Linked DNA regions of Homo sapiens: all the other regions are linked to region 1. The links are contacts of gene promoters, found by promoter capture Hi-C in blood cells and fetal thymus (Javierre and others, 2016). All regions are on one chromosome and are shown on one strand. Each heading gives the region's core, a stretch centred on a gene start or on the middle of the fragment in contact. The rest is flanking DNA. Distances are from core to core; before and after follow the strand shown.

Region 1 (2,925 bases), core at 203-2,702:
TCCCCGGCCTAAATGCTTTGCTTTAGTTTGCAGAAAATCGTTTGTCAGTTTTTTTCTTGGTTATTCATTATTCGGGCAAATGCAAGTATGTTTTCTAGCTGAGTTCACCAATCCAAACCTCAAACCACATTCCTCCACTCCAGGCCTCCGTTCTGTCCGCGGACTTATGATCCTGCCTGCCAGCAGGAGTCTACCCTGAAGTCGCGTGGGATAGATAAAGTGAGGAGAGGAGGATGAATGGACAGACAAACGAGAGCAATTCTTCTACCTGTGGGCTGTCCTACGCCTTGCAGTGCCGGGTCCTGCGGCGACCACTGAGCCCCTTCGTCCTCGCCCTCAGTCCCTTCGTCCTCGTCTTCGGTCTCCGCTTTCCCAGTCGGCCGGGGCTCGTCGTCCACGACCCCGCACGTGCCGCCGACGTCGCCCTGCCGATTCCGCCGCAGGAGGTGGAACTGTAGTGGTGCCGGCGGCTTCTCCCCTGGGGCGGCGGTGGCGAGGCGCTCGCTGGCGGCGGGCAGCGGCTGGATGAAATACGCCTCCCCCAGCAGGTAGAAGGCGCCGCGCACGCCCTCGCAGAGGCTGAGGGCGGCAGCCGAGCTGGGATCGCCATTCACGGTGCCGGAGTAGAAGCAGTGCGCCAGGTCGGTTTCCGGAAGCGGCGTCTCGGACCCGGATTTGCGCCCCACGTTCTGGAGCGTGAAGCCGGGCGCCAAAAAGCTGCTGTCGGGCCGCAGCTCCAGATCCAGCTGCTGGTCAAAGGCGTGCAGGCGGAGGCGCGTGGTCCCGTGTCCCGGGGCGCGCTCCAGCTCCGGCACCACTAGCTCCTCGTCCTCCTCGGAGGGGCGCCCGAGTGCGTCCGACACGGCCAGTAGCGCCGCGGCGAGCAGCAGCAGCGTGGGTACTGGCCCAAAGCTCCGAGACCCCGGAGCCCGCTCCGCGTTCCCCATGTCGCTGCCCAGCTTGCGCCTTCCGAACCCCTCGGGCACAGCTCGCTGCATTGGAGCCCCAGGAGACACCGCTCGTAGCAGCGCACGGAGCGAGGGACCTTTAGTTCGGGTCGGGAGAGCAAAGCCTCGTTGGCCTGCTCTGGATTGTTAAAATTAACAATTTCTATTATTCGTTGGAAGGGCGCGCAGAGCCGGCTACAGCCGAAGCTCCCGGAGTCACTAAAAGGAGGCGCTGCAGTTCTGCCGGCGCGCGGGAAGTTTTTCTTCCAGCGCAAAGTTGGAGACACTGAGAGGCAGGCGCAGGCAGAGTGGCTCTGCTGGGACAAGAAGCGCTCTGGGGCGCCTCCGGGGCTGAGGCAACGCGGAGATTGGTGCCTGGCGCCCCTCTTCGGCCTCCGCCTTGGCTGCGATGTTGCTCACTCTGCTCAGGGCTCTCCCCTCTCCGTCCGGTAGCGCACCCTGGCTTTGCAATAGCCCCTGGCTCGGAGCCGCTTTCCAGCGAGTGCAAGAACCGGGCAGCCGAGCGGTCCTTTTATAGTGGACCAGTGAAACCCCCACCCCCACCCCACTCCTCCCCTTTGGCCCTTTTCCATCCCAAAGACGCCGCCCCCGGCTCCGTTGGTGCTAAACCGCGCTCCGCGCTGCGGGCTCGGGAGGGGGAGGGGGCAGCCTCCGCGCTGGCTCCACGCCACTGCTCGTCAATCTAGGGGCGGAAGGGGCGCTGTGACCAGCACTTTGTACTGCTGGGGCCGCTCCAGGGAGAAGACTCTCCCTTCCACCGCTTTTCTCCCTCGCCGGTTTCCTGGACCACCCTTCCTCCCCACCGCCCGGTTGCGGTAACTCAGTTACCGCGCTGGGCTGCGGTTCCCAGGAGGGAGGGTTCGGTTGGAGAACGCAGTCCCTTCTTCAACATTTCCCTATCCTGGAGCTGCCCTGGGTCTCCTTCCCTCCTCCCTCAGTTCCCTCTTCCCCAATCTAGGAGATGAGCTAGGGCTACACTTTCTAGAAAAATACCTCACCCCACTTCTCCACCTTCCCAGCCTGCCAGGAGCTCCTTAGCCGCCGCCTGCTCTCTCTTCGCCCCAGCTTTTCTAGGGAAAGCTTGGCCCTGCGCTTCCCCCAGAAAGCATGCCTGGGTGAGGGGCCAGGTGACACTTCCTACGATCTGGATTTTAAAATATGTTTGCTTATGCCTTCACCCTCCACCAACCCCCACCCCGCACGCCACCTCTTCACCAGAGACGACTTTGTGAGGGCCCGGTTTCACATTTCTGGAATGGGTGATCTGGGACGCGGCTCAATTCCCTAGAGCATAAGGAGGGAATTGCGCTTTTTCTTCTTCATTCGAGAAATGATCGGCTCCCGCCAGTCTGCGTGCTTTCACTCAACAGCAGCTGCAAGCCCTAGGCCAGCGTCGCAGAAACGGCCAGGAACCCCACTTTCCTACCCGGGGGCCAGCAGCGATCGCTGGGGCTAGCAAGCGTGCAGAGGGGGAAAGAAGGAAATCGGCTTCCTTCCCGGACCCCTCCTTCCTCTTCCTACCAGGAAGGGAAAAGGCTATATCCGCGTTACGAAAGCGAGGAGAGGTCCACCAACAGGTCCTTAGGAAAAAAAACTGAGTGGCTCTTCTCTCCAAAAAGTGGGAGGGGCTCAAGGACCCAGAGGAAGGACGTGTTTCACAGGCGGAAAGCCGCGGGGACAATGGCGAGAGCGACCGCCCTAGCCCCGGGCGGACCCGCAACCCTCACACTCGCGCGCCCCCGCGTTAGTGCTCGAACTGGTCTCCGCCTTTCCGCCCCACTCCCGTCCGGTCTCTTGGTTGGCTCCAAGTAGATCTGGGTCCTTTCCTCGCTCCTCCCCAGATCTTCCCCACTTCAGTTGGCCCCAGCCAGAAGCGTCCCTTCTAGTTCTCCCACACGTCCCTCTTACAAGCTTTCTTTTCCGGATGCTTTCCAACTTCTTTTTTCCTAGCGAGATT
Region 2 (2,925 bases), core at 161-2,660, 970 kb after region 1:
TAAAAGTAGCAAATGCATATGATAATGGGTATTTGTGTACAACATTCTGTGTTAATAAAGACATTGATATTCTCTATTCATTGAATCTCATTTGAAGATTAACTCTAGGCATTACATATTTTAAGATGATATTTACAAGTAGGAGTATAAAAAGAAGAATATGCTCAGGATGATCTTCTTGAAGGTAGTCTCTTTCCATTTCTGAAATCCCAGGCTCTCTAGCACAGGGCCTGAGACACACATGAGGTTTCACAAAGATTTGTTGTAGAAGAAACAATGCTTAGTGTCGACCAGGATTCAGTAAACTTTTTGTGTTAGTTTGTTCTCCTGCTACTAATAAGGACATACCTGAGACTGGGTAATTTATAGAGGAAAAAGGTTTAATTGACTCACAGTTCCACATGGTTGAAAAGGCCTCACAATCATGGCGGAAGGCGAAGGAGGAGCAAAGTCACATCTTACGTGGATGGAGGCAGGCAAAAAGAGAGCTTGTGCAGAGAAACTCCTGTTTTTAAACCTATCCATTTTCCTGTGACCCATTCACCATCACGAGAACAGTGCAGGAAAGACCTGCCCCCATGATTCAACTACCTTCCACCGGATCCTTCCCACGACACATAGGAACTACGGGAGCTACAATTCAAGATGAGACTTGGGTGGGGACACAGCCAAACCATACCCCCCCTTTTTTTTTTTAATGTAAAGGGACAGAGAGCAAATACTTTAGGTTTTGTGGGTCATAGTTGTTTGTGTTGCAACTACTCAACTCTTCCACATAACAGGAAACCAGTCAGAGGCAATGTGTAAACCAAAGGGCATGTGGTGTTTCTATACAATGTTATTTATAAAATGAGGCAGCTAGTCATACATGGCCCCCAGGCAGTACCATGCCCATCCCTTGTATAAAACAAAAATAACTAATTAAAGATATGATTTCTTTATTCCTTACTGGCAGCTTTCTGAAAGGTAATGTGGCCGTTTGTTGAGAAGTCAGAGGACAACATAACTAAATTAGAAAAATTTACAGAAGAGCAGGTATTTTTATCCTTTAGACAAGAAACATTATCTTACAGACATGAATGATATTTTCAGCAATTAGATCATCACTAGTGGTTCTAGTTGCCTCAAGACAGAGCTTTACTTATTGTTTGGTATATTCAAGTAATGGTAGATAGGATGTCAATCTACAGGTGTAATATTGTGCATATGGTTAAATATGAATCCAGATTCGGATATGTGGGTCCTGCTTTGAGCCTGAGAGTCTAACAAGCTCCCAGGTGATTCCCATACTGCTAGTCTGGGGCCAAGCTTTGAATAGCAAGAATTTAGCCCTGTGAAATAAATTCTTACTTTCTGAGATTTTAAAATAAATTTCTAAACTTAAGAATCTATTTGCAAATTATAGCTATAAAGTGCTTGGCATTAGGGTCCTCCCCAAATCTTGTCTTTTTTTCTTTCATTTTAGGAAATTATTTATATGATCGTTTACCTCTAAATTTTATCTGATTTAAAATAAGCTTGATTTCTCTAGTGCCAAAATACATCCTTATTCAGTATTTTACTATAGTGAAATAAAGTGCATTTAGATGGAGTAAATATTTTATGTATTAATATTTTAGAAGAAACACAAGATATCTTCACTTGTATCACATATATTTTATAATTACTTTCGTAATAACACAGACAACAAAAAAAAAGTGTTGAGAGCTGAGTATAAGCTGGTGACTCTCCCACATAATCTTACATTTATCTCACTCTTGCATTTTGCAGATCTAGGAATAGTGGCACAGAAAAGTTTACAAGTTCCTTAAGTAGGAGAGCCAAGATTTGTTTCAGAGCCTAACACTGCTGTAAACACTTTTCACACTAAATCATATGGCTAATATTAACAATAAATAATACAGCAACAGCAGATGAATGAGGATCCTGTATGTAGCCTAAAAATCTGTGAGTTTAAATATAAAAACCTGGCTCATCTCCATTATGTTAACTGAATAAAAATATAAGACAACTGTGCTTTCTGACTGCAAGGGGAAATCTCAAAGAAATTTTGTGCAAAGCCTCTGGTTATGAGGAAAAGAGAGAGGGGAAAAGGAAAAAGAGAGGAAGGCTGGAAAGAGCAAAAGTCCTCAGCTCTAGGTTGGAGAAAAACAAATGGTGACCAGAGTCAGTCCACGCGGCTCTGCAGATCCTGCGTCTTGCTTGGAGAAGCCATTAGAACGCAGCCCCCGGCAGGGAACCACGCCCAGCCTCCAGGCCACTGTAAAACAGCAGCGCCTTTTTCCACGAGAAGAATAGGCCAGTGTCTGTGCCACAAGCACTTTACCACATGCTCATTTTGGTTGAGAAAGCAGTGTTGAGGGGGAAAAAAAAAAAAAGCCAGAGTCATAGATTTTTCCTTACTTTTTTTCTAAGGCAAACAGAACACTTCCCCCACTCTGAATAAGCCTGAATAAATGACATGTGCGAAATGACATCTTTCTTTACTTGGAAAAAAGAATAAACCGACTTTTTTTTTAATATGTGTATGGACCTCAACGTTATCTCAGCAGATAACAATAATACCTGAATAACGTTGAAAATGTTTTTCATGAGAAATCATCTATCAGATGTTAAAAGAAACCATGACAAATAGAGGGATTGCCTGACTGGAGCATATATATACACACACATATACACACACACACACACACACACATATACACACACACACACACACACACATACACACACACACATATATACACACACACATACACACACACATATGTATATGCATATACATATACACATATGCATATATTTCCATATATGCATATACATATAAAATACAACTCATGATAATTTACTTGACTCTGTGCCTATAAATTTTGCTTACACAGCTGGGTGATGTCAGTTTATTACAGGATTAAATGTTTATTCTTA
Region 3 (2,925 bases), core at 283-2,782, 940 kb after region 1:
AAGGGGAATATCCACCCTGGTAATCCAATTACCTCCCACCAGGCCCCTCCACCGACATTGGAGATTACAATTTAACATAATATTTGGCAGGGACAGAAATCCAAACCATAACAGTGGCTCATCACTAACTGTTCATATTCTATGTTTATTTTTACTCTTTCTCCTAGTCACTGAAATGCAACACACACACACACACACACACACACACACACACAAACACAATCTTTAAAATCAGCTTCAAATCAGAACTCTAACTGTCCAGTGAGAAAAATGAAATACACAAATTAGTATCATCTCAGCATCACTCTACCACGTTGATTACACTGAGATTGTTTTCTTTTCCTCTTGTCTTCTTCTCTTCTCGTCTTTCTTTTTTTCTGTGGGACCACTGTCTTCCCTTAGCTTCTGTTACAATTCTTTTAGGACTCTGTGAGTGCTTCTTTGGCACCGTTAAATCTTGGGATCTATGTTCAAAAGGGTCCAGAATCTAATAATATTACACCATTTTTCCTGCTAACATTCTGGTACAAACCACTATCATCTGTCAGCTGAATAACATTACCTTAAGCATTTTTCCTTCTGCAATCTACGCAAACTACAGTCTATCTCAACAGAACAGGCAATGTAAACTTTTATAAATATAAGTCAGCTCAGGTAACTGTTTGGCTCAGAATGGCTTCCCTGTTCACTCAAATTAAGAGCCCAAATCCTTGCTACGACCTGTGTACTTGGCCTAAGTCACTGTTTATTCTCAGATCTCATCTGCTTTTCTCCTACTTGCTCTGTCCACTATAAACACACATTTCCAGGTATTCTTCAGTCTAAGGCTTCTGAACCTACTGTTTTTTTCTCCCCCCAATCTTCACATTGTTAGATGTCACACCTGCTTCAGAACTTTTCTCAAGTATTACCTTCTCAGCCAGGGTTTCCCTAACCCTTATTTTAAAAATTATAACCTCTCCTCTCCTCCTGACACTAAGTACTCTATTCCCTTTTCCTGCTTTATTTTTCTTTCTCACATATACCACCTTCTAACATTTACTGTATCTTACCTTTTTATAAGAGGTAAGCTTCATAAGGTAAATTTGTGTTGTTTATAGTTCTAGTACCAGGACATACAACAAAGCCTGGAATATAGGAAGTGTTCAATAAATACTTTTTGGATAAATGAATGAACAAATAAATGAATACCCAGAAACAAGGAAATTGAAGACATAAGAGGAAAAGCCCTCTATTAAATAAAAGTTTGAACTGTACCCAAATAAATCATACATTTATTGGTGGGAAAATTGGTTGCTTTATAATTAAGTTTAATATATCCTGTGTATTATAATCACAATTTTATTTGAAATGGTATTTTAATTTAACTCAAGTTGTTGTAAGCTAAATGGCTCATGTGCTCCTCATTAGGAGATGAAATTTCATCAGTTTTCTCAAAAGTTTTGCTTTCCTTACCTGATCCACTTAGTAATCAGTTAGGCAATTAAGACAATTAATTGAGAAGTGGGTAAAAAAATACTAACAATATGACTTTTGTGTGCGTGTGTGTGTGTGTGTGTGGTAGAAAATCCTGATTATTGACAATGGAAAACTACCTAGAAAATTAGGAAAAATCTATCTAGGCATTTACATAACAGAAAGTCATGTCCTTTTTCAAGCCAGTACTTTACAAGGAATACCTTAAATTTATCCAAACTCATACAGTCCCAAACTAAAAGTCATGACTCAGGGTTCTAGTGCTGACTCTACTATCGAGGTGGCTGATATAGTTTGTATGTTTGTCATCTCCAGCTTTCCTGTTGAGATGTGATCCCCAGTGTTGGAGGTGGGACCTAGTGGGAGGTGTTTTTGTCATGGGGGTGGATATGCCATGAATGGCTTGGTATTGTCCCTTAGTAATGAGTAAATTCTCCCTCTATCAATTTCCATGAGATCTTGTGGTTAAGAGAGAGGCACCTTCTTCCCCTTTTTTGCTGTCTCTCAGTATGTTACAAGCAAGCTTCGCTTGGCTTCCACTATGAGTAAATGCTTCCTGAGGTCCTGACCAGAATCAGATGTTGGTGCCATGCTTCTTGTACAGCCTGCAAAACCATAAGCCAAATAAACCTCTTTTTCGTTATAAATTACCCAGCCTCAGGTATTTCTTCATAGCAAAGGGAAATGAACTAATACAGTGGCCATAGCCAAGTATATTGATCAGATTCCATTTAACTATTAATAAATTGTTTGACCAATAAATTATCAGATATATACCATGGGCCAGTAAATGGATATCTTGCTATAGATTGGGCATTCTATACACTTAATTAAGCAAGGACCATGCTCTTCATATGATAAATTCCTACACTCAATGTTTAGTCCCCTTGGGCAAAATGAGATACAGAATATAAGCTGTAATAGGAAGAACTACATGGTATATGTTCACATGGACTTTGGAGTCAGGTGAGTCATACTGTTTGTCCCAACTTACTCTCTTTTAATTGTGCAATAGGAAAGTCCCTTTATATTTTTTTGCAGAAAATTTTGTTATGTTTAAATGTGAATAATTGTATCTATTTCATATTAGTCTTTTACATAATAAATATATGCAGAACACTTATAGTGCCAGAGAAAATAAATACCCAATGTATGGTATAGCTACAGCCCTGATCCCATTCCTCCTGAGACCTCCCAAAAGGGATCTCCAGCCATCTAATCCAGGCACATTCAGGTCAGCAACAGATCAGTACCCCTCTGGGACAGAGAGCTTCCAGAGGAAGGAGTAGGCTGCCATATTTGCCATTTCACAGCCTTCACTGGTGATACCTCCAGGTAGGGAAAAATTCGAGGCAACTAGGCTCTGGAGTGGACCTTCAGCAAACCATAGCAGCCTTATAGAAGAGTGGCCTGACTGTTAAAAGAAAAACAAACAAACAGAAAACAAAA
Region 4 (2,925 bases), core at 319-2,818, 920 kb after region 1:
AGTTCTCTAGTTGACATGTAACATTAACCACCTTGAGAACCCAACACCTATTTACACCTATTTAAGTAGCAATGGGTTATCGCAGCACGAGGCTACTATTGAAGTTGTTCATGACTATGTCCGTTTATGAAGTAATTTAAAAGATTTTTTCAGTTACTTCCATTAATCGCAGCCCACATAAACTTTGTTAACATTATTAATTACTAAGAATGTTTTCCTCATGTATTATTGGTACATTATAGAAAATGTAAACATCCCCCTAGGTAGAAGCCATCTATTTTGTTAGTGGTGAGAAGATTATATTAATAATTCTTTTTTTAAATTTATTTCTTACATTTTAAGTTCTGGGATACATGTGCAGAATGTGCAGGATTGTTATATAGGCATACACATACAATGGTGGTTTGCTGCACCCATCAACTTATCATCTACATTAGGTATTTCTCTTAATGTTGTCCCTCCCCTAGCCCTCTACCCCCTGACAGGCCCCACTATGTAATACTCCCCTCCCTGTGTCCATGTGTTCTCATTGTTCAACTCCCACTTATGAGTGAGAACATGTGGTGTTTGGTTTTCTGTTCTTGCGTTAGTTTGCTGAGAATGATGGTTCCCAGCATCATCCGTGTTCCTGCAAAGGACATGAACTCATCTTTTTATGTCTTCATAGTATTCCATGGTGTATATGTGCCACATTTTCTTCATTCAGTCTATCATTGATAGGCATTTGGGTTAGTTCCAAGTCTTTGCTATTGTGACAGTGCTGCAATAAACATACATGTGCATGTGTCTTTATAGTAGAATAATTGATAATCCTTTGGGTATACAACCAGTAATGGGATTGTTGGGTCAAATGGTATTTCTGGTTCTAGATCCCAGAGGAATCACCAGACTGTATTTCACAATGATTGGACTAATTTGCACTCCCACCAACAGTGTAAAAGCATTCCTATTTCTCCACATCCTCTCTAGCATCTGTTGTTTGCTGACTTTTTAATGATCGCCATTCTAACTGGCGTGAGATGGTATCTCATTGTGGTTTTGGTTTGCATTTCTGTAATGACCAGTGATGATGAAATTTTCCATATGTTTGTTGGCCACATAAATGTCTTCTTTTGAGAAGTGTCTGTTAATATCCTTCACCCACTTTCTGATGGGGTCGTTTGTTTTTTTTCTTGTAAATCTGTTTAAGTTCTTTGTAGATTCTGGATGTTAGCCCTTCGACAGACGGATAGATTTCAATAATTTTCTCCCATTCTATAGGTTGCCTGTTCATTCTGACGATAGTTTCTTTTGCTGTGCAGAAGCTCTTTAGTTTAATTAGATCCCATTTGTCAATTTTTGGCTTCTGTTGCCATTGCTTTGGTTTTTTAGTCATGCAACTTCAGCAAAGTCTCAGGATACAAAATCAATGTGCAAAAATCACAAGCATTCCTGTACACCAATAATAGACAAACAGAGAGCCAAATCATGAGTGAACTCCCATTCACAATTGCTACAAAGAGAATACAACTTACGAGGGATGTGAAGGACCTCTTCAAGGAGAACTACAAACCATTGCACAAGGAAATAAGAGAGGACACAAACAAACAGAAAAACATTCCATGCTCATGGATAGGAAGAATCAATATTGTGAAAATGGCCATACTGCCCAAAGTAATTTATAGATTCAATGTTATCCCCATCAAACTACCATTGACTTTCTTCACAGAATTAGAAAAAACTACTTTAAATTTTATATGGAACCAAAAAAGAGTCTGTATAGCCAAGACAATCCTAAACAAAAAGAACAAAGCTGGAGGCATCGTGCTACCTGACTTCAAACTGTACTACAAGGCTACAGTAACAAAAACAGCATGGTACTGGTACCAAAACAGATATACGGACCAATGGAACAGAATAGAGGCCTCAGAAATAACGCCACACATTGCAACCATCTGATCTTTGACAAACCTGACAAAAACAAGCAATGGGGAAAAGATTCCCTATTTAATAAATGGTATTGGGAAAACTGGCTAGCCATATGTAGAAATCTGAAACTGGACCCCTTCTTCATACCTTATATAAAAATTAACTCAAGATGGATTAAAGACTTAAACGTAAGATGTAAAACCATAAAAACCCTAGAAGGAAACCTAGGCAATACCATTCAGGACATAGGCATGGGCAAAGACTTCATAATTCTTTAATTCATATATTAATTCATATATTAATATAATTCTTTAATGCCTACATAACAATCCTGTACATTCTGCACATGTATCCCAGAACTTAAAATATAATAAATAAATTTTAAAAAAGAATTATTAATATAATCTTCTCACCACTAACAAAATAGATGGCTTCTACCTAGGGGGATGTTTACATTTTCTATTATGTATCGTACCAATAATACATGAGAAAAACATTTATAGTGACTTCTTTATTCCCTAGGCATTTTAATAGTCTGTATATGGAGTTGTAAAAAAAAAAAAAAAAAAAAAAAAACCTAAGCCATAGTCTGCTCTTGACTAGGCCACAGAATAGTTGGCAAGACAAATGTGTAAAGAGATATGCATAATGCATTGCTGTAGACTTAATAAAATGTGGGGCAACAGTTGATGGAAAACAAAAGAGGGAAGTACCTTGGGAGCCAGAAAAGGCTACACAGAGGAAGTGACACTTTAACTTGGTTTTGGTAGAACTTTCTAAAGGTTGAGAAAAAGTAGAAGGACAGTACAGAGACAAGACTCAGGCCAGGTACAAAACCGGGAAAGGTTCTCGGGAGTGAAAAGTCTGGCTGTGTGAGCTTCAGGCAGCCTGAGAACTTTCCATTTCATGCACAGGAAGAAAAGCAAAATTTCCAGTGAATTAACACAAAGTTTCTTTTGATTTCTTATAATGAGATAAAAGTTATAATTACACTATACCTATACCAAGCAATGTTTT
Region 5 (2,925 bases), core at 108-2,607, 910 kb after region 1:
AATCTTCGACAAACCTGACAAAAAGCAATGGGGAAAGGACTCCCTGTTCAATAAATGGTGCTGGGAGAAATGGCTGGCCATATTGTGTCTAGAATTTATTCCTTCCAGTGGGTTCTTGGTCTCGCTGGCTTCAAGAATGGAGCCGCAGACCTTTGCAGTGAGTGTTACAGCTCATAAAGGTGTTGCAGACCCAAAGAGTGAGCAGCAGCAAGATTTACTGTGAAGAGCGAAAGAACAAAGCTTCCACAGCATGGAAGGGCACTTTCCGCTGCTGGCTCAGGTGGCCAGCTTTTATTCCCTTATTTGGCCCCACCCACATCCTGCTGACTGGTCCATTTTACAGAGCCCTGATTGGTCCATTTTACAGAGTGCTGATTGGTGTGTTTACAATCCTTTATCTAGACACTGAGCACTGATTGGTGCGTTTTTACAGAGGGCTGATCAGTGCGTTTATTTTCCTTTAGCTAGACACAGAGCGCTGATTGGTGCGTTTTTACAGAGTGCTGATTGGTGCATTGACAATCCTTTAGCTAGACACAGAGTGCTGATTGGTGCATTTTTACAGAGTGCTGATTGGTGCATTTACAATCCTTGAGCTAGACACAGAGCGCTGATTGCGTTTACAATCCTCTAGCTAGATAGAAAAGTTCTCCAAGTCCCCACTTGACCCAGGAAGTCCAGCTGGCTTCACTTCTCAATATGTAGAAAATTGAAACTGGACCCCTTCCTTACACCACATACAAATATTAAATCAAAAGAGATTAAAAACCTAAATGTAAAACTCAAAACTAAGAAAACCTTGAAAGACAGCTGAGGCAATACCATTCGGGACATAGGCCATGAGCAAAGATTTCATGAGAAAAATGCCAAAGGCAACTGCAAGAAAACAAAAAATTGACAAATGGGACCTAACTAAACTGAAGAACTCTGCACAGCAAAAGAAACTGTCTGCAGAGTAAACAGACCACCTACAGAATGGGAGAAAATGTTTGCACTGATTTACTTTCACAAAGTCAGTTTGTGAAAGAAAAAGAGAACAAGTGGAATTTGAAAGGCAATGGCTAATTTCTTATGCATCAGTGAAGACATTGGAATCCAATAGAGTTGAGTGCAAAGGTGAGCACACTGCTTTCTTGCTGTGTAACTTTGAATAATTAACATAAACGTTTAAGTAGATTTTCTTATACCAGTACTCATCACTTAGGATTGTGATCAGGATGGAAGTATTATGGTCTAAAAGTTCCACATACAACAATACCTGGCATATAATATTTAACAAGTGATAATATACTTATCTTCTCATTTGAATGAATAACTTTTAACCTTGAAATATAAAGGAATTTGCTAGGTCACACTGACTAATTACAAAGGTTAAATTGATTAAAGTTTCTGTACTTAGGTTTGCCTGATAAAATATTTAAAAACTATGTATTTTGGTTTAATAAGCCTGGCTACTGTAGCTGTACTTCAGAGAATTTTATAAAATGTTTCAGAAAGAAGAATGAATTTTTATGTTACCAAATCCATACATACAACACTAGGCACTGGGTGACTGCCTCCATCACAATGCTTAGAATATATTATCCCATAATCAGAGTTCTTTTATATAAGGATGATAGGAAAATAATTGACAAATGCATTTAAATCAATCTAAAAATGTTGGAGGAATAAGAATTCACTAAGTTTATATCAATGCTTATAGAATGAAAATCAACCATTATAAAAGCATTTATTTGTTGTATCTTTTATTTTAAAAGCAATTCATTATAGCTAGACCTAACTAATAAGCAAACTATGTTGCAACTAGGATCAGAATCAACATTGAGCCTAGTCAGTGAAAAGGCACATGAAAATTAAATTTATCAAGAAAAAGTTTGCTTTGCAATGTACTACATAACTGTGTTCAACTTAGAAAATCATTTGTAAGAAACAGCAGATATTTGCCTCGACTTCAGAATATGATCCTTAAAAATGAAATCTGAAACATTTTACATTGCATCCTTGATTTCTGAAATAAATATAATTCAGGATACAACTGTCTTCCCATAAGAATTACTTTCTTAACTTTAACCATAAATTAAAGTGACCAAAGATTGTATGAATCGTATAGCATCGAGATAATGAATAAAATCTTCAACTCTAAGTTGCAAGAAGATGCAAAATATTTTTTTTCCTCTAAGGAGAAGCTGATCACTTACCTTCTGGCTTCTTCTTAATATATTCACATATATTAATTAGCATCAATTTTGAAAATCAAAGTAAATATTTATTTACTATGTGGATGATGGGAATATGAAAACCACAAAGGCTCACCATTACTCTGGCCAATATTCTTATAGTCAATAAACATATTTCCTTGAGAAAACTACAATGGTTACCCCTATTCAAGGAGGAACTATAGAATTTTGAGATATAATGGAAGTTGTAGAGTAGTATTTCATTGAGTAAAGATCTCTTCAAGGGGCAATAATAAGAGAAGCTTATAACATACAAAATAATGATGATGTAGCAACTGAGAAAACTCCTTTAATACTCTGATATTTCTTCCCCCCTTCCTCCCTGCTGCTCTTCTCATTTCTTCATTTTTCATGCATCATTCTTACATTCTCCTTCTGCATCTGCCTTCTTTTCTCTTCCTCTGTGGTTCTGCATGATGTTTCTATTTTCCCTCTTTATATGGCTTACGTATGTTTTGGATGTCTCTTCTTTCTGTTCACATCACGTGTATTTGATTTTCAAAGCCAAATCCAAATAGTAGTATCCTTTTTCTTCTAAATTGAAATAGTGCTTACATGTCCTGACCATTTCAACCCACCTTTTACATTATCATATACCTATCAGAGGCATATATCAGGCTCTCCATCAACTTAGACATTTTTGTGTATACATTCTACAGCTATAGGTATGCAAACACTTCAAAAATAT
Region 6 (2,925 bases), core at 201-2,700, 880 kb after region 1:
AAGAAGAATTCTCCCTCCTTCCAAATGGGTGCTAACTCAAAAAAAGTAAGTAGGTGGGATCCTTAAAGGATCAGAGTGAGGCCCTATGCAGTTAGACAAACTGCTTCAAAAGCCACTGAAAACTCGACTCTGAGGTATAACAGGAACAAAAAGTATATGGTAAGTCATAAGGAGCTGGCAGAGCTGGGGTTCCAAGTAGTGTCTGTCCTGGAAATGTGTCAGCAGACAAGGGAAGGGTTTGTGGTCATCTGAGCTAGTAGGGTAAACACAAGTATAAATCTCAGGGTATTTCTGCAAGGCAGCCTGTGTCTTTGCTGCCAGACAAATGCAGCAAGAGCCATGGGTGCACAAATAACAGGGTGTGTTTAAAAATTCATGTGGCATGTGAAGTGAAAGCAAAGAGGCAGACTTGCCTCCAAAGCAGATAGTCCTGTGGGTGTGCAAGGCCATTTCAGAATACATGCAGAGAAAACAGGAGAATATGCTGTTTGCGTTTTTGGAAAGAGCTGATTTTAGTTGAAAAGGTAGAGGAAACCCTAGACATTGCACGGTTTTAGGCTTTAGCCCTACCTTTCTCACAAGCCTCCTGTCCAGGAGGGCCATTAGCATCTCAGATCTACTCAGTGTAAACCCCAAGGTTATTCCCACCTCTGCAAGCTGCCAGTCAGGGTCAGCTGAGAGATCAGCCTGGTGGGTGTGTGTGAGCAGAGTCACTTATGGCCAAGAGGAATTGTTCTGGGGGTTTGTTAGTAAGCAGGAGAAAGAAGGGGAGAAGAAAACTGTGTATGGGTGTTGAACACCTCCCACCGAAGCAAGTGAGGAATAAAGATCTCTTACCATTGAAGACCATGTCGAAGTCATGGAAACAAAATATGTTAATGGCCAAACGTATTAGAGACCCATGGCACCAAAGTATGTTAGCAGTGGAAGGTATCTGAGTCACATGGCACAAAAATATGTTCCCAGCAAAACATATCTGTGTCACGGCACCAAAGTATGTCACCAGCAGTAAATCCTTATGGGTCTACAGCAACCTCAATTCTTGCCTCTTCAGAAGAAATAATTCAAACAAGGAGGTATAAGGCAGAAGGAGAGATACAGACAAGTTTTAGAGCAGGAGTGAAAGTTTATTAGAAAGCTTTAGAACAGGAATGAAAGAAAGTAAAGTACACTTGGAAGAGGGCCAAGTGGGCGACTGGCGGGATCAAGTGTGTGGTTTGTCCTTTTGACTTGGAGTTTGATATGTTGACATGCTTCCTGGTTCTTGAGTCTCTTCTCCCTGATTCTTCCCTAGGGGTGGGCTGCCCGCATGTGCAGGGGCCTGCCAGCACTTGGGAGGTGAGCAGGCACAGCATGTTTATTGTATATGCATGCATGCTCACTTGAGGTGTCCTTCCCTAACCAGCCAAATATCCCTAGAAGGACATATACCAGTTAAACTCCACAATTTTGCCTCTTAGTGTGCATATTTGAGCCCAGTCACCCAGCTCCTGAGATCTTATTGGGAAGCTGCTGATCACCAGTCTCAGGTGTTTCTGCTTATTGGAAGACTGCCTTTCCCCGGCACTGGCTATAACCAATTATTATTTTAGAGAAACAGTATAACAGCTCCCTGACCTTCACTTGATGGTCCCCTGACATTCCTGTTTGGGACAGGGGGAAGGGGCTCTCCTACCCTGCTCATATCTAACTACCCACTTGTAAGAGCAATACAAAGAATAGATATATGGTCTTATATATACATCTTACGTACAATATCATTTCAAGCTTCTCACACTTCAAATTAAATGCTGCCATATTAACTCTAAGTAGCTTACAGTAAGTGAAAGATGCCTACTGTAATCCCTATAGTAAGCACTACAATTCACAAAATGGCATAGCCAAAAAGTCAATGGTAGAAGTAAAATGTAACACTGAAAGATTAACATAACCCAGAAGAAGGCAGAAAAGGAAGAACAGCAAAACAAAATCGGAAGAAATGAAAACACAATTACAGAAAATTAGCTAATGGAGATTAGAAAAATTACAAATGTAACCCAACTATACTAATTATTACATTAGCTGTTGTTATATTGTCAGATTTAATAAAATAATCAAGATCCAAACATCCTCTTTAAAAGATATGTATATTTAACATAAAGAAACAGGTAGACTAAAACAAGCAAGACCAAAAGACCTCTTTTGTTTTTTTAACTTTGTTTTAGGTTCAGGATATTTGCAGCAAATATCCTCTTTAAAGATATGTATATTTAATATAGGGCACAAATAGACTAAAACATAAAACATGGAAAAAGATATACTATCTAAAATGTAAAAATGTAAATTGTATGAATACTGTAATATCAAAGTATGCTCCAGTACAATAAACATTACCTGAAATAAAGCGCAGCATTTCATTAAGACATAACAATCATACATGTTTGCATACTTAATTAACAGAGCTTCAAAATACAGCCATGTACTGCATAAAGTTGTTTCTGTTTTGCATACATAACGGTGGTCCCATAGCATTATAATGGAGCTCAAAAATTTATAGCCGTTGTAATGCAGTGTGATGCATTACTCACGTGCCTGTAGTGGTGCTGATGTAAATATACCTACTTTATGATGTCAAAATGTTGTAGTAACTAAGTTGAATTTATGATTGAAGAAAAATATTTTTGATAAGTTTAGTGTAGCTGAAGTGTACAATGTGTATCTAGTCTACAGTAGAGTGCAGTGATGTGTTCGGCCTTCACATTCACTCACTAGTGCTTCATTGACTCACCCAGAGCAACTTCCAATCGTGCAAGCTCCGTTCAAGGTAAGTGCCCTATACAAGTGTACCAGTTTTTATCTTTTATACTTTATTTTTACCATACCTTTTCTCTGTTTACTTATGTTTAGATGTGCAAATATTTAACATTGTGTTATAATTGCCTACAG
Region 7 (2,925 bases), core at 293-2,792, 840 kb after region 1:
CCTTGATAAAGTACTCATAACATCTCAAGCCTTTTTGTAAAGAGAGGAGTAGTTTTCATGATCATTAACCTTTTTGGATTGTGAAAATTTCTTAGTCTAGGATGAAAGCTAATGACCCATTTACCCAGAAAAACACAAGAAAGTACAAACCCAAGGTTTAAGGATACTCAAGGCAACCAAAAACAACACTGCCAGTTAGTTTTTCTGTGCATATACATTTATTTGTGTATGTTCTACAAAATATATTTTATATGTATAGTTTTGTACCTTTCTATATGTTCCATTTACAGTTCTGTAACTTTTTTTCTTTCATAATGAATGGGTATTGAAATTTGTTAATTTACATTTCTGCCTCAAATGAGAGGCTCATATAATTTTTCTTTGTTAGCTTGTTGATAAGGTAGATCATATTGATCGATTTTCAAAAGTTGAACTAGCCTTCCACACCTGAAATAAATCATATTTGATTTTGATGCAAAATTATTTTTATACATTTGTTGGATTTAGTCTGATAGTATATTATTGAGAATTTTGACCTCTACATTCATGAAAAGTATTGATCAGTATTTTTCTTTGCTTACAATTATCTATTTGTTTTTTGGTATTAGGTTAATTGTGGTTTCATAGAATAAATAGGAAATGTTATTCCTCCTATTTTCTGGAAGATTGTAGAAAATTGGTATGATTGCATTGTTACATGTTTGATAGAATTAACCAGTGAACCAACAGGCCTGGTGCTTTCTTTTTTCAAAGGTTATTAATTATATATTTAACCCTTTTTATATTTATAGGACAATTTAGAGTATTTATTTCTCTTTCTTATAGTTTTTGTCCTTCAAGGAATAGGTCCATTCCATCAAAGTTATGAAATTGGTGGGTGAACACCTATCAGTAGTATTGCTTTATTTTTGTATTACTTTCCATGGATCAGTAGTGATGACCATGCCCTCATTTCTGATATTGGTAAGTTGTATCTTTCTTTTTTTCTTGGTTAGCCTGGCTAGATATTTACAAATTTTCTTGATCTTTTCCATGAATCAGATTTTGTTTCATTAATTTTCTCTATTGTTATCCTGTTTCAATTATATATTTTTCTTCTGTAATTCTTATTATATCGTGTATTTTCTTGCATCAGGGTTAGTCTTTTCCTCTTTTTACAGTTTTTAAAAGTTTAAACATAGGTTATTTATTTTAGATCTTTCTTTTTTAGCATATTTATTTCATGCTAGAAATTTTCCAATAACCATCACTTATTTTTCATTATATTTTATAAATTTTGATGTTATATTTTTAGTTTCATTTAGTTTTAACTATTTTTTATTTCTTTTGAGATCTTTTCTTGGCTCAAGATTTATTTAGCAGTTCTATTTTTTAACATCAAAATATTTGAGAATTTTCAGGTCTGTGATTGCTTCCTTGCTGAATTCCATGTAATCTGAAAACATACTTTGTATAATTTCTTATATTTTAAATTTCAGAAGGTGTGTTTTATTACCCTACATATTGTCTATCTTGGTAAATGTTCCATGTGAAATGGAAAAGAATGTTTATTTTAATGTTGGGTAGAATAGTCTTTAAATGTCAATCGGGTCAGCTTACTGATAGCGTTACTCAGGTCAACTATATTTTTACTTGTGTTTTGCCTACTTGATCCTATTAATTATAACACGTCATGTTGAATTCTTCATGTGCAATAATTGTTTTGCCTTTTTTACCTTTCAATTCTATCCGCATTGTTTCGTGTATGTTGACACTCTTTTTAGAGGTATACGTATTTAAGATTGTTGTCTTTTTGAAAAATGGACATTTTTGCAATTATGTAATGTCTCTCCTTATTGCTGATAGTTTTTCCTGTTCTGAAGTCAGCTGTCCGATATGCAGCTATCTACTGCAGCTTTCTACTGATTATTTTTAACACAGGATATCTTTGTTTATACTTTACTCTTAATCTGGTTGAATGTTTATTTTTAAAATGGGGTTTCTCATTAACAACATATAGTTCATTGGGTCTTGAGTTGTTATTTTAATCCACTCTCACAATCTCTGTTGTTTAATTGGCGCATTTATTCATATTTAAGGTGCTTATTGATATAGAAGGATTAACAGATAACATGTCTGTATGCTAATATGTTTATATTTTTTTCTATTCCATTGTATTTGTTCTATGTTTCTCTTTTCCTTGTTTATCTGCCTTCTCTACTTTTAATTGAATATTTTCTATAATTCAATTCTTCTGATTTTTTTATTCTTAGTATATCAATTATATTTCATTGTTTAATAATTGTGTGCTTTTCAAGAACCTATGATATTTATTTTTAACATTACACATAACTACACTTCATGGAAATGTAACCTTTATGACATTTCTGTCATTTATTGAATTTTACTTGGCATAGTCACACAAAACATTGTTACTATTATTGCTTAAAATACCTGTCTTTTAGATCAATTAAAATTAAGAAAAAATACGGTTTTTGGGAGGCCGAGGCGGGCGGGTCACGAGATCAGGAGATCGAGACCACGGTGAAACCCTGTCTCTACTAAAAATACAAGAAAAATTAGCCATGCTCGGTGGCGGCTGCCTGTAGTCCCAGTTACTCGGGGGGCTGAGGCAGGAGAATGACGTGAACCCGGGAGGCGGAGCTTGCAGTGAGCCGAGATCACGCCACTGCACTCCAGCCTGGGCGACAGAGCAAGACTCTGTCTCAAAAAAAAAAAAAATACGGTTTTTATTCTACTTTCATTTACCCTTCCAACACCTTTTTTTATGTAGATCTAAGTTTCTGACATAAATTAATTTTTTTTCTGCCTGAAGAACTTCAAATGTTTCCTGAGGACAGGTCTGCTGAAAAAGATTTCCTCCATTTTTATTTCCCTAGAATAGTCTTTACTTATTCTCGCTTTTGGAAAATAATTTTGGTAGAT

The links. The method cuts DNA at HindIII sites, captures the fragments that hold promoters and counts their contacts. A CHiCAGO score of 5 or more calls a contact.
Region 2: a fragment that was not itself captured here is called in contact with the fragment with the promoter of ADAMTS1 in region 1 in 1 of 17 cell types (M1 macrophages); the score reaches 5.9 in M1 macrophages.
Region 3: a fragment that was not itself captured here is called in contact with the fragment with the promoter of ADAMTS1 in region 1 in 1 of 17 cell types (M1 macrophages); the score reaches 5.4 in M1 macrophages.
Region 4: a contact is called between a fragment that was not itself captured here and the fragment with the promoter of ADAMTS1 in region 1, in 1 of 17 cell types (endothelial precursors). The highest score is 5.6, in endothelial precursors.
Region 5: a fragment that was not itself captured here is called in contact with the fragment with the promoter of ADAMTS1 in region 1 in 1 of 17 cell types (endothelial precursors); the score reaches 5.1 in endothelial precursors.
Region 6: a fragment that was not itself captured here is called in contact with the fragment with the promoter of ADAMTS1 in region 1 in 2 of 17 cell types (monocytes and M0 macrophages); the score reaches 6.0 in monocytes.
Region 7: a fragment that was not itself captured here is called in contact with the fragment with the promoter of ADAMTS1 in region 1 in 5 of 17 cell types (monocytes, M2 macrophages, erythroblasts and 2 more); the score reaches 10.7 in monocytes.

The regions. Positions count from the first base shown.
Region 1 is chr21:26,843,957-26,846,881 of GRCh38, forward strand. ADAMTS1 (ADAM metallopeptidase with thrombospondin type 1 motif 1) reads right to left here and starts at 1,453. Exons shown (of 9, transcript NM_006988.5): 1 at 269-1,453. The coding sequence starts at 998. RefSeq lists enhancers at 1,637-2,237, 2,238-2,837. The HindIII fragment of the contact is 3,865 bases long and covers 1-2,046 here.
Region 2 is chr21:27,811,687-27,814,611 of GRCh38, forward strand. No RefSeq gene overlaps it. Among named protein-coding and RNA genes, the nearest start is that of LINC00113, 91 kb to the left of the region's middle. The HindIII fragment of the contact is 209 bases long and covers 1,307-1,515 here.
Region 3 is chr21:27,784,812-27,787,736 of GRCh38, forward strand. No RefSeq gene overlaps it. Among named protein-coding and RNA genes, the nearest start is that of LINC00113, 64 kb to the left of the region's middle. The HindIII fragment of the contact is 929 bases long and covers 1,069-1,997 here.
Region 4 is chr21:27,767,366-27,770,290 of GRCh38, forward strand. No RefSeq gene overlaps it. Among named protein-coding and RNA genes, the nearest start is that of LINC00113, 46 kb to the left of the region's middle. The HindIII fragment of the contact is 6,979 bases long and covers 1-2,925 here.
Region 5 is chr21:27,751,160-27,754,084 of GRCh38, forward strand. LINC00113 (long intergenic non-protein coding RNA 113) reads left to right here. Exons shown (of 4, transcript NR_024357.2): 4 at 1-74. Among named protein-coding and RNA genes, the nearest start is that of LINC00113, 30 kb to the left of the region's middle. The HindIII fragment of the contact is 2,239 bases long and covers 239-2,477 here.
Region 6 is chr21:27,725,861-27,728,785 of GRCh38, forward strand. All of the region lies in intron 1 of LINC00113 (long intergenic non-protein coding RNA 113), which reads left to right. Among named protein-coding and RNA genes, the nearest start is that of LINC00113, 4.9 kb to the left of the region's middle. The HindIII fragment of the contact is 629 bases long and covers 1,137-1,765 here.
Region 7 is chr21:27,684,965-27,687,889 of GRCh38, forward strand. No RefSeq gene overlaps it. Among named protein-coding and RNA genes, the nearest start is that of LINC00113, 36 kb to the right of the region's middle. The HindIII fragment of the contact is 3,168 bases long and covers 1-2,925 here.